Regions from separate parts of the Homo sapiens genome. Here all the other regions are linked to region 1. Evidence: promoter capture Hi-C in 16 types of primary human blood cells and fetal thymus (Javierre and others, 2016). All regions are on one chromosome and are shown on one strand. The core of a region is centred on a gene start or on the middle of the fragment in contact, and the rest is flanking DNA. Distances in the headings are between cores, read along the strand shown.

Region 1 (4,784 bases), core at 2,184-4,683:
TGTGTTTATGGACACATAGGTACCTTTAGGGAGGTAGGATAGGGGTTAAGAGCCAAAAATACAATTTTCAGAACAAGTTTAAGTTCTCAGATCTGATGTTAAGAGTAGTTTGATATTCAACAAGTTATTTGTACTTTCTGATTCTCATTGATCACATCTGTTATATGGACATAATAAATTTGTACTTTCATCAAAAGGTTAGTAGAAAGTTAGTATGATAATGTATGTAAAGTGCTGCATTGGAGTGCCTTTTACAGCTCAATGCTTGGTGGCTGTTATTACATAGTGTAAAGATCAGTAGCATCCCTCTGCTGAACGTTCAAGTAAGATTGAATTCAGGAATCTATCAATTGCCTGGTTGGTGGAAGTTTAAGTTCTTTGCCAATGTTTCTGCAAATCCCAGAGGCTTGTAATCTTTTATGATCAATGCCTGCAAGCTTTTGCTTCTGTTATTCTTCATATTGACCCAGATGTGCAACTGAGTCCTTCTCCAGTTACTTAGGTAAGGCAGTCCCTGTGTGGTGTATGGTTTACTAAGGATGTTTGGAGTAGTTTGGCTGTTTATTTTGGGGGGAGTTTATACTTGCATGAAGGGCACATTTGTAACTATTGTAAATATCCTCTGACAAACATGTCTCTGGGAAGTTTCCATGTTTACTTTATCACCATGTAATCTCCAATTCACTCTAGCTGACTCTTCTCTCCCATTTGGAGAGGGTATTGGAGAGAAGCTTCTTATCTTTTGTGTGATTCTCATGACCATGGCCTTCTTGTTTGAACTTCATGTGGAAGGGCATCAAAATGACACGTTCACGAATCTTGCATTTTCCCCTGAGTAGCCTTCCAGAGCCTGAATTACCTTCCAACTCTGTGGGGCCCAACTATGCTTTGGTTCTTATTCCTCTGTGAGATCTGGCTGCACAGCTGAGATTTATGTCTTCTTTTTACCTCATGAATTCTTACAGCAAATTCCTGTGCCAATGTTGAATTTTACCTGAGCCCTGTGCTCCTGGAAAACAGTGACAGTTAAAGAAATCCCTCCACTCTTTTGTGTTCTGGAAAAGAATGAACTTTGTCCCACCCTCAATCTGAGTTAACACATAACCCCTCCTTAATGACCCCTCTGGAGCGTCAACTGATAAAATACATTCTTTGATCAACTCTTCAGTCCTGCTACTGTTACTAGCTCATCCCACTTCTGCATATCTGTTTCTTTCTAGCCTCATTCATGTTCACTTCTCTTTATGAAAGAAAATTCCTTTTCTGTCTGACATTTGACACTTTTGTTGGTCTCACAATTGAGACATTCTCCCTAGTGTAATAGTCTCCCTTGCATTATTGCTATAGACCATTTCCCCACTTTTGCAGTAATATCTCTCCTTACCTAAGACCAGATTGGATTTTTATTTGACATCTGTTACTTAAAAGTATGTGTGTTTCTCTGTACCTTGCAAACCTAAAACAATCCAATTAACAGGAAATTGCCCTCCAAATACTTGTATTGCCTGTGTTATTTTGTTTCCTTAGACCCTGCTGATCTTTGGCCTTCAGATTGTTGACTTAAATCATGTAGTACATTATCTTTGTTTTTAAGTCCAGTAGGCTGGTTCATGGTGTATCAGAAGTAGAAATTTGTTGAAAGAGCAAATGAATTCATAAATCTCTGAGTTGCAAGATAATTCATGGACTAGCAGTGACTAATATTTCTCAGAACTCACAAATGAGCAAAAGTGTTTCTTTCCTACCCAATTTGTTTTTCTGGTTGGAAGACTGTCTTCAAAGTCTGTTAAGGAAGAGAACTGCCCCAGCAGTTGGAGGCATCTGCTACTAAGGTTACTGGGACCTAACACATACCTCCCGGGAAAACAGTGCAGTTGAGTTTGGGTCAAATGAAATTAATGAGAGATTTAAGGTACAGTCAGCTTTGCCAGGTGGGAAGCAGGAAGAATACTGAGATGCCATACTCTTAGGAACCTGACCTGGCACTGATTCACTAAGAGTTATCTAGTGGGATGATTTTATTTGTTGAGACTATGACAACTATAGAAGCCAGGCTTTAATCTTTGAGGAAATGCAGAGGAAGGAGTCACAGTTCTGACATTTATAATGGGAGAAAGAGAGAGACCTCGTTATTGAGGAGCCCCTGGGCTAATATGATGAAGCGACACACACACACATACACACACACATGCACACACGCACGCACACACACACAGAGTAGCTCAAAGACATTCAAGCAGCTTTACATTACTATACAAGAAAACCCAGCTGCATGAATAGGGATACTCAGGAGATTACAGTGATCCAACTTAGTTTGTAGGCATTATATTCAGGAGTAGCTTCAATACATGCAATAAACATTCTTCTGTAAGGAATGAAACACCATCATTGAAGGTACTATCCTTTCAGAATCTAATAATCATTTCAGAATCACATACCCATTAATAACCTATAGTCCAGGGCAAGAGATCTGTGGTATTCTCTTAAGACCTTAGGTCTTTTACTGACATTTCATCCTGTGCATCAACTTTGCCAAACCCTGCTTCATGTCTTTGTTCCTCAGACTATAGATAAATGGATTTAGCATAGGAGTCAGTACGGTGTAGATAATTGTTGCTATTTGATCCTTGACAGTATAGTTGGACAGGGGCTGAAAATAGAGATAGCTAATGCTTCCATAAAACAGGGTCACCACTGTGAGATGAGAGCCACAGGTAGAAAATGCTTTACGCTTTCCAGCAGCTGAAGGAATCTTCAGAACAGTGATGAGGATTCTTAAATAAGAGATGATGATGCATGAAAACGGGGTCATTATGACAGCCAAGCCTTCTGTCATTACTGTGATTTCTTTGACAAAATGGGAGGAACAGGACAATTTTAGCACTGGTTGATCATCGCAGAAAAAGTGATGGATGACATTTGAGGCACAGAAGATGAGCTGATTAGTCAGAAGAATGTGCAGGAGGGAGTGAAAATGTGGAATGCAGAAGGAGAGAACCAGAAGCAGGACACAGCATCTGTGACTCATAATGGTGATGTAGTGGAAGGGATTACATATGGCCACATAGCGGTCAATGGCCATGGCTGCTAGCAGGTAACTGTCTGTGTTTCCAAAGGCTAAGAAAAAGTACATCTGGGTCAGACACTCACTGTAAGAGATGGTCTTTGTCTCTGATAAGAAGTTCACCAGCATCTTAGGGATAATGACTGTCACATAGCAAATGTCAACAAAAGACAGGATGCTTAGAAAGAAGTACATGGGCGTCTGGAGACGAGTGTCTGAGCGGATGGCCAGGATGATAAGCAGGTTTCCTATCACTGTGATAAGGTAGATGGGGAGGAACACAGCAAAGAGCGGCTTCTGATCCTCAGGTCGAGAGGAGAGTCCAAGGAGGATGAATTCAGAGGGTCTTGTTAGGTTATTTCTTCCCATAGTTGTGGGTTCACCTAAAGATAAACTAACACTGTAACAGATTCTTCCAACATCTGATACAATCTGTCCAAAATTTCTCCTTTTATTCTTCTTATCAGCAAAGAAAAAATTTAAAACATTACAATTATCTGGATTGTGGTTTCTTTCCATTAATGTGGGATATTTAGAAATTAATATATATTTTAATCTCAGTTGCCTGCTATAAAGAAACAAATTACAGGGAAACAGAAATGGGAAAAAGAGAAAAGAAGAGATATAGGGCAAGAGGAAGGAGTGAGTGCAAGAGAATTCCCAGAAGGAGAGGAGGGGAATCCTGGAGAAATTATTCTCTTCTTTTTCTGTATATATTTATCGTATTCACGGTTTTCAGTAATTAGTTTATGACAGGTTTAAAAAAGTTTCATCTCTCAATTTCCAGCTGATGGAATAATGATTTCCCTTAGTTCGGATACTTCTGTCTGCATCAGTTATTCTGGAGGCTGGCAATCATGTAAAAAGACATTGAAATATGAGATTACCCAACAGTTACTCCATTTCCCTCATTTTTTAGTGAAACCTTATTTGAGTGAAAGGATAGGTATGAAGAGGCAAAAGATAGACAGAAATAACAGGATAGTAAAAACATTTCTTTTCCTTATTTTTTTTTTTTTGAGACAAGGTCTTGCTTTGTCACCCAGGCTGGAGTGCAGTGGCACAATCTTAGCTCACTGCAACCTCTGCCTCCTGGGTTCAAGCGATTCTCCCCCCTTAGCCTCCTGAGTAGCTGGGATTACAGGCTTGTGCCACCACACCCAGCTAATTTTTGTATTTTTAGTAGAGATGGGGTTTCACCATGTTGGCCAGGCTGGTCACGAACTCCTGATCTCAAGTGATCCGCCCACCTTGGCCTTCCAAAGTGGTGGGATTACAGGCATTAGTCACCGCACCCGGCCAACATTTCTTTTAATGTAACATAAACCTCATTTTTGTTATCCAGCCCCTAAATGCTAAAATCGTCATTGTTAGTGCATGCTTGTCTGTGTTGGTGTAATTCTTTTCCCAATTCCAGTCTCAGTTATATATATGCTTCCCCAAAAAACCACACAGAGAAGGCACCTGATTCTAGACAAGCTTTCAACCCTCATGAAGCTGAAGATTTTCCTCTCTTCCTCCTCTGGGCCTCCCACATGCTGAAGAGATTAAAGACACTCATAGACCCCACCCTCTGTCAAGGGAGCATCCTTTGAGATCATCAAGAAGTCCCTGGAGTTCAGATGGAGAAGACAGCAGAAAACAAGCCAAGAACTATTACGGTTTTGGAGTTTCTTCCCCAAGGAGCCTGGGGAGTGTCAGTGCCTTCTCTCTCTCTCAG
Region 2 (4,452 bases), core at 1,638-4,137, 140 kb after region 1:
ATGATGTTTGAAGGTAAATGGCATTCTATCTGTCTCCAAGAATCTTAGAAATATTAAAAATATTATTTTAAATATAAGGGCTATATAGTTTTGATTTCTTACATCTGGTATCACCAGGTGTCCACTGGCTACCTAAACTCCTTCCTCATTTAAGTTTGTTTCTCAGACCTAACCTATTCTAAAATGTTTTATGATTGCTGCACTTTTTCAATGAATACTTATGGAGCATCTTTCATGGAATCAAACTGTTCCAGGCTTCAGCTATTAGTAAGTACAAATGTGAATCATTTAGATGCCACATCTTAGTACGCGAGGATTCCATTTATTTCATGACCTGGAACTGGAAGTCTGTTCTTCTCTCTAGAACTCCTTTCCAGATGTTCCCTCAGAGAGTCCTTGAATGGGATGAGCAGGGCATCGTCATGTAACCAGAGCTGGAGATGGTTGCAAACTTGGAGTTCTCCTGCCCTCATCTCCTTAGTCTACAACTCTCCTTCCATTCTGTTGACATCTATCGCTCCACTGACCAAAGACCACTGACAGTCTCCTCCAAGCCATTGACCTCTAGCTTTCTTCTATCATTTGAACTGGCAATGGACTATCCTCCACTTCTCATGATCAGCTCTTTCAGAAGAGGGTCTCCTAGGAGAGCTCTAAGGCCCCTGATGACACAGCTAGTGGACATGAGGAAGCCTGAGGTGTGAGATCACCAGATACAGCCTCACACTATATCTGAAACCTATGTCCACCCTGATACCCTAAATCTGCTGCTCAGATTCACCCAATCAACTTTACCTTCTTTACTCATGGTGTCTATGTCGCCTTCTGGTTTCATTCACCATTCTGATCCTCAGGGACCCTCAATCCACTCACTGATAGTGCGGTAAATTTATGAATCCTGTTTGGGTATGGTTTAAGTTCTTTCTCACAGGCCCCAAGCAAACTAGAAGATGTGACTGGGTGTCCACTTCAGTTTACTTAATATAATTCTGTGGCCGTTAGGAGTTAGGTCAGCACTCAGCATACAAAGATTCATCAACGGACACTGTTGCCTATCACTGTTCAATAGTCTAACATTCCTCGATTCCAGCCAGCCAAGAGTTATCAATGTATTCAAAGTTCCAAACTTATTCCTCCTTTGATATACAGTCATACATTACTTAACTATGTGCATATGTTCTGAGAAATGTTTCACTGGGCAATTTTGTCATTGTGCAAACATCATAAAGTACACTTACACAAACCTAGATGGGATGGCCTACTATACAGCTAAGCTATATGGTATAACTAATGCTCCCAGGCTACAAACCTGTACAGCTTGTTAATGTACTAAATGCTGTAGGCAACTGTAACACTATGGTAAGTATTTCTGTGATAGGATTTATTCAGTTCCATTATGAGCTTGAAACCACTGTGGCATATGGAGTCTATTGTTGACCAAAACATCATTATGAGGCACATGACTATCTTATCACACCCATCCCCAAAACATAAGCTCAAATTTCTATTCCTTTAAGGTCATCTATGTCAAAGAGAATTAATGTGATGTTAGCATTAAAATAATTCCTGCTGACATACAGGTGACTTATAAATCTTTGCACCTTGGTAGGGTAATGAGCAGGGCATGCTTTGAATCAGAGGTGGGGTAATGGAGAGAGGTAGCATGATAGAAAGCTTCCCAGTGCCCCTTGCCTATTTAGGGGTTTTGCTTTCTTCTTGCTCAGAACCCATTTTTAAGAAGCAAATGGTCTTCAGTTTGTTTCCTCACTTCCTTAAGACTGTTAAACCTAATCAAAATTATTTAAGGTGCCTAGTCTTCCATTTTGTTCTTAAATATCAGTCCACAGAACCATAAATCAAGAGCAATCCTTCATTCTATCACCTACTTCCCATCAATTACCAATACCGTCTAGTCTACCTTCAAGAGTATTCTCTTCTCTATCTATATGCCATTGTCTTCATCCAGGCACACATTATCTGTTACCTGAATGTACAATGACCTTCTAATTAAGCATCTTGATTCAAGGCACTCCGATCCATTGCCAAACCATCTCACACGTTGGTTACCCGAGTAATCTTTAGAAAACACAAACATAACCTTCCCTGAGACTAATCCCAATTCCACCCCACCCCAGCCAATGGTGCCCATCACTTGCAAGGCAATGTCTAAACCTCTTAACAGGACAATCTACCCCCCTCACAATATAGTCTTTGTCTCCCTGTCTAGACTCACCTCTTGATGCTTCCTTGACTCATACACACCTATGTATAGCAACATCATTTTTCTTACATTTCCCTGAACATACCATGCAAATTCAGTGCCCTGGCCCACTCTGTCCACTCTACCTAGACTCATTTGTTCCATTATGTATCAATCCTGAGCATCCTTCAACCCCCAACTGAAGAATTACTTCCCCTGTAAAGCTTTTGCTGATATCCAGGCAGCATTAACTATACGCCCTTGTGTTACTACCATGTAAGTATTTCATCGTCTCTAAGCCTCAATTTTCCCAGCTGTAAAATATAGATAGTAACAGTGTATATATGTAGAATTATTATGAGGATTAAATGACATAATACAGGTACAGCTTTTAATACAATGCCTGACACACAGTAGCCATGCAAAATAAGCACAACTATTCGTGGTGTTATTACGTTAAGGCACTTTTTGTACTCTTGCATATTTCTTAGTTTACCTGTTGCTACACTATCAGAATATGAGCTTCTTTTGCCTGGAGGCTTTCTCTTTATCCAGATCTGTTTGACCAAGAATAGGCACACTGCCTGGCACAGACAGGTAACTTGCTGAATGGCTACTGAGGGGCACAATCTATAAAATAAAGAATGTTTTACTATTTTTAGTATTAATTCCAACATTTGTCCTTAATTACAAACAAATTAAATTGTATGTATATGTGAGTTACACACACACACACACACACACATGCACACAGTTCTTGGATTCAAATAATATAACCATCACAACATTAATGGGTTTATTTTTTCCTTCAAAAGCTAAGTGAACTTAATTCTTTAGCAAATTCCCCTTCCACTTTCCATCTGTGACAAAATAGAATAATTTTTGTTTACTCTTAAAATTTCCATGTCAGAATTGTGTGTTACATATGTGCTAAAATCAAGTGCTGGAGTTCCTGGTTCTAGGATGTTTTGATTCCTCCCCTCTGAGGAAGATTGTTCTATTGTCACACTGTGAAAGAATTAGTGTTAACTTTTGAGAAGGAAGTACACTGGTCACTTGAAACGTCCATAATTGCCAATTTTCAGAACTATTTGTTAACTTGTGAAAAAAAATCACACATTCATGGATTTCAAAAATGCAGCAAGCTTTGTTCTAAACTCAATGAGGTGCTTCACTGGAAAAGGTCACGAATCCTAGCCCTGGCATGGCTAGAGGGAAATGCACTCATATAAAGTGCACACTTCCAATGTGATTGATGTTCAGTTCTATTTGCATATTCAAATCAATACGGTGCACCCCAGTGTGCTTTGGGCTGTCCAAAACCAAGACAAACTGATCTGGGAGATGAGGTGGACTGGTAAGACAGATAGTGATGAAACACTTCCCAACAGACAAGTGAGCTTGCCATTTCTTGAGGAAAAGTCATTCAGAGAAGTGTCACCAGCCTGTGGCTAAAACATAAATGACAATATTGGTCTCTCTGGAGGATGGGCCTGACAAGACTAGGCAGATCTTCAGGGATCTGAACAACAGAACTGGGGTGCCGGCAGGGAAACTGAGTCAGGCACTTAGTTCTACAGATCACATCACTATAGCAGAGATGAGAGTGTACAGCAGGTCATGATTGTGCTGAGGCTATCAAGGCATGCTTTACCTAGACCAACAATAAACCAACAATAAAGATTCTATCCCTGTTCAGGTTTTGGCTCTGGAAAAGGTCGGGGCTAAGCCTGTAAACAAAGTGACCCTGTGCTTGCAGCAAGGAGTGGGGGTGGCACTCTTTCTTGTTCTACAAAGGACTGGATGCCAAAAGGCAGCTACATGAGCCCCCGATGAAGGATCACTCTTTGAGTCAATATCAAACAAGTGAAGAGTAAGGTCTTTTTCTGATCTGTCTTTCCTTACCTACCCACACATGAACTCACTTGTTCATTGCCCTTTAGTTATTTGGTTCTAGCTCAAGCCAGAACAGATATGTTGCTGTGTCCTAGGGCAGGTTATTGCTTTTGAATTGGGAATATAACCAACATGACAAGCTGCCCATGGTCACCATAATTCAGGAGTGTCTGCACAAGTTCTGCTTCAAAACTCATCTCTGATGGAGAAGGTAGAGAAAATTCACATTCATTATTCTTGGTCAGCTGTAGTGTTAAGCCCAATTTATTACTGCATTTACTTCAAATAAAATATGTTAGGTGTTGCAGAACTTTTTTCACCTATACAGAAGAAGAAATTGAGGTTCAAAGGAATTG
Region 3 (4,223 bases), core at 269-2,768, 190 kb after region 1:
GAGGAATAATTAGCTCAGTCTGATGGAAGAGGATATAAACAACTTCCCAAAGAAGGCGTTTCTTTACCTGAATCTTAACAGATGAGAACTATCCAGACACACAAGGTTTTATCTTGTTCTGATGATCACAGGAAGAGGGAGTAGTGTGTGTCAGGATGTTAAATTGGAAGTTTCAACTGAGGCACCAAGACCTGGGAGACAACAGATATTAAAGTGAATTGTGACACACAAAATGAAGATATTGATAGGAAATAATAATAATAATCAATATCGTAACACTTGAGCCTCTCAATCTAATGTGGATCTAAAAAGAGCTGAGAGCTGGAGGTAAGAGAGTGTCTTGTAAAGTTTTCTTTCAGAGAAAGCTGCATAGTGAACCCCAAATCCTCCTAACAGGGAGAGGGTTGTTTTTCTCCTTATCTCAAGCTTAATGGAAGAAGCTTCAATAGAACCACTTAGCAAGTTTCATATATATCCCCTGCTTTTGTGAGAGAAAGAGCAATAGAAAAGAAGAAATGTGGCGGGAGAGAGATAAAGACAATGATGAAATTATGTTTAGGGAATGCTTTCACTTCTTTTCATGGTGAGGCAATAAAATAACTGGGGATCCCAGTACCTGGTAGTGGACAGTGAGCCAGGAAGACCCCACCGTGGTGCTGTCCCCATGCCTAACCCTGCCCCTGGCCTCGCCCTCTAGCCCCTATCTCCTAGCGAGGCCCTGCCCCAACCTTCCCTGCCAAGCTGGATGGAGGAGGGTGTAGCCCAGGCTGCTCCTTGTCTGCCTGTTGTCCTGCCAAGTATTCACCTAGGAAAAAAAAAATTAGAGAAATGTCCAAATATGTTGAGTTTATTCAGGAATGAGAAATGAAAATTATAACCCAGGGTGCACAAAATGACAAGCCACCAGTGCATCTGGTGAGGGCAGGGTAAAGGGAAGCTCTCATTGGCAAGAAGGAAGAGGTTCGTGTCAGCTGCTTAGACACGGAGTCCACTGGCTCCAGAGGCTCAAAGCTAAAGTTGTCATCAGTTCATTGGTAGAGATGCTGTTACTGTGCAAATGACCATTTGAGAGCATGTTATCTGAATTACTGCAGTCCTGAAGAATGTCTAGTGATAAACCTTGCCATAGAAGCATATGTATATGTGTGAAACCTGCAAGCTGTACAAAGCAGATGAGTGAAAGATACAAAGAGATGTCTTCTGGAGCTCTTAGAAACTTCTTGGAAATAGTTCTTATCTCAGACACGTAAGCATGAGCCCCCTCTCCTTCATGCCTTCCCAGCCCTATTTTGTCTGGGTGTGACAAAAGTTATTTCATCCTGATACCTGCAACTTTCACATTTCCCTCTTTTGATAATGATTTTTCTCTAAAAATATCATTGATCAACTAGCCTGTAGCCAGGTTTGAATTGTCCTTTGGTGCTGGGATAGACCTGTTGTAGTTAGTTGATCTCATCCCACATCAGGCGGAAGTGATAAACAGCTGGAAGTCAGTCTCAAGACCCTTTTAGCCACATTTGAGCAAGAAGGAGGCCAGAAGGAGAAGCTCTTAGGCTTATCTCATCTGGATTTCATCATTAAATTTAATTTTGTCTGTTCCATAGGCATTGACTATCATCTCAAATTGCTGGGCCAACATTATTTTGTCAGGAGTTGTATTTCTGCAAAGATTTAACAGACAACAAGTATACAGTTTAAAAAGGAAAATACAGAGCAAAAATAGCCATAATATGACGAGTCCAGTTTGCATGATGCTTTTGAGCCATGAACAAAGGCAACCAACTAAATAGATAAAATGACCCCAGAGAAATGGGTGAGACTTGTAGCCAGATAGACTTGTTCTTTTAGTTTATGTAACTGAGTTTCAACTTACCTGGAGGAGTTAACCTGGGTACAACATGCAGTATTAGCAATCGCACAGATACCATCTTGCTCGGCTAATAGATAATCAAGAGCAATTCTGTCAACACTACCCTGGCAAGAGAAGCCAATGAATGCTATTGTATACTTGCAGTGAAGTCTGCAAGAATTCCTAGGGTAGCAAATAAATCTTTTACCATTTCTTCATTAGTGGCTATATCATACCATTATACAAAAGATCTGACAAAGGAAGCAATCCAGAGTCCCATGCCCACCTGGTAACTCATGTTTAACCCTTTGATATAGTAAGACGGGACTAGTCCAATGACAGTCCCGTGACCAGTTTCAGATCTATTATGCATTGACAACAGAGAAACAAAACATCCCAACACACATTAGCCTCCTGTTGTCCAAGTGTCTAAATATCTGGAGGCCCATATTGACATATCCCACCCACAAAAGTAAATATATCCAATAGGAAAACAAAGAATTCTTCCATCTGTAAATTTTCTGTGTCTGGCAGGATTAAACCAGGGGTCAGTTATATTACTATAAACTGCTAATGGCCCTTCCTCTTAAAATCAGTCCCAACAAGTTTTCTTACATATGGTAAAGAGACCCAAGGAATACTTTTAGAGAGATGATCCATTGCACGTCTCTAGGGCCCTACTAGGAGATCATTGTTTTGAGTAGATGAGACAGGAGACAGGAATAGAAGGTGAATGAGAAAGCTTAACCTTATAGGATGGTCCCATGATACACTTTGTACAGAGGGTTGGAGCTGAGATGTTTGTTACAGATTGTACTAAATTTGTTACAGATTGTACTAAAAGAAAACTAGAGTCATTAACAGGTCAGGATTTTTTATGACAGATCCAACAATCAGTAAGTTTTCCCCTGTACCAACAGACTGGGAAATGTGGACAGGAATATCGTCTTCCAGGGAAAAGAAATGGATAAGATAAAGTAAGAATTAGAAATAAGGAAAGGGTATATAGAAGTCATCCAAACATCTTGGGAGAAACAGATGCCACCTGCTTCAAATCTTAGAAATTTTTAGTTTTATAAACTAAGTTCAGTTCTTAGAAATTTTTAGTATTAATTCGTTGACAGGAGTGCAGATCCACTCAGGAGCTGATGTTTTCCTTAGATAAGATACATATATCCAAGAATCAATTCCTTTAAGGTTGGCAGCACAAAGGTTGGTTAACAGGACTGGAAATGGGCCTCTCAATGAGGTCAGAGGGAGTCTTTTTTTAAATGTCTTTTCAAATAGACAAAATCTCCTGATTGCAGATTATGGTGTTTTAGGTCTTCATCTCCTGGGAATGCACTGTGGAAAGATTGTTCTACCAGAGCATACTTTTTATCCATAGCCTTGATTATACCTTTATAATATTGAAGCATTTCACCTTTTATGAACTTTGGGTCTTTGAAGTTGGGGCCAAATGCATGGGGTACCCAGTAATAACTACAAATTGTGAGATCTTATGTATTCCAAAGGGAGACCTTTTAGCTCTGAAGCACTATAGGCAGGGCTTTTGGCCACGGCAAGTATAAGGTTTCTACAAAATTTGCCAGTTGGGTCTTAAGAGTACTATTGGTGCATTTCAACTAGTCCAGAGGGCTGGAGATGATAAGCACAATTAAAGTGCTGTAAGATTGGCCAGATGGCCCACATTTGTATTATAACTTGTCCTGTAAAATTAATTCCTCAGTTGCTGGGAGCTCAAGAGAGATGGCCCTGGTATGAATTATCTTTTCTAAAAGGACTTTAACTACTGTTAATGTGGTGGCTCATCTTCAGGGGAATGCTTCAATCCAGGGGGAGAACATACAGATCAAGACTAACACACATTTGTATCCATGCAAAGGAGGGAGCTCGATAAAATCCAACTTTGAAAGGCCCATTAGGGAGGTTAAAATGTTCAGGGTTATGCACCCTGCGTTCCCAGGATTGGATTTAGGGAATGTAGGGCAGGGTAAAATAAGTATTTTTGGCTGCTTTATTGATGGTACCTGACCAGTATTGTTTTATAGAAGTAATTGTATTTTATGTAGCCCAGTGGCTTAAGTTATGTACAGTAGTAAACAATGGAAATTTCATGGAGTCTAGCAGGACAGGTTTGTTTATTTGGCCCAAACCCAAGTATATCTTTACCAGTGAATCAGCATCCACTATTCTCCAGCTTATTTTTTTGGCCTCAGATGCCCAATTCTGTGCTTCTTTAGTAATTGTTTCAGAATTATTTGGGGGGAATTTTCTAGCTGGGCCATGATAGAAATTTGATCAATAGGATCTTTTAAGGACAGCATTCTTTGCTGCATTATCCGCAAAGTGATTTTCTCTAGATTCCACAGTG

Evidence for each region. Contacts are between HindIII fragments. The CHiCAGO score rates a contact against its expected background, and 5 or more counts as called.
Region 2: a contact is called between a fragment that was not itself captured here and the fragment with the promoter of OR1L1 in region 1, in 1 of 17 cell types (endothelial precursors). The highest score is 5.1, in endothelial precursors.
Region 3: a fragment that was not itself captured here is called in contact with the fragment with the promoter of OR1L1 in region 1 in 1 of 17 cell types (endothelial precursors); the score reaches 6.4 in endothelial precursors.

Annotation. Positions count from the first base shown.
Region 1 is chr9:122,660,365-122,665,148 of GRCh38, reverse strand. It overlaps OR1L1 (olfactory receptor family 1 subfamily L member 1), which reads right to left and starts at 3,433. Exons shown (of 1, transcript NM_001005236.3): 1 at 2,501-3,433. The coding sequence starts at 3,433. The coding sequence ends at 2,501. The HindIII fragment of the contact is 3,812 bases long and covers 734-4,545 here.
Region 2 is chr9:122,521,077-122,525,528 of GRCh38, reverse strand. It overlaps a transcript of OR1J2 not described here. Among named protein-coding and RNA genes, the nearest start is that of OR1N1, 4.0 kb to the left of the region's middle. The HindIII fragment of the contact is 921 bases long and covers 2,427-3,347 here.
Region 3 is chr9:122,471,660-122,475,882 of GRCh38, reverse strand. It overlaps a transcript of OR1J2 not described here. Among named protein-coding and RNA genes, the nearest start is that of OR1J1, 4.2 kb to the left of the region's middle. The HindIII fragment of the contact is 2,151 bases long and covers 443-2,593 here.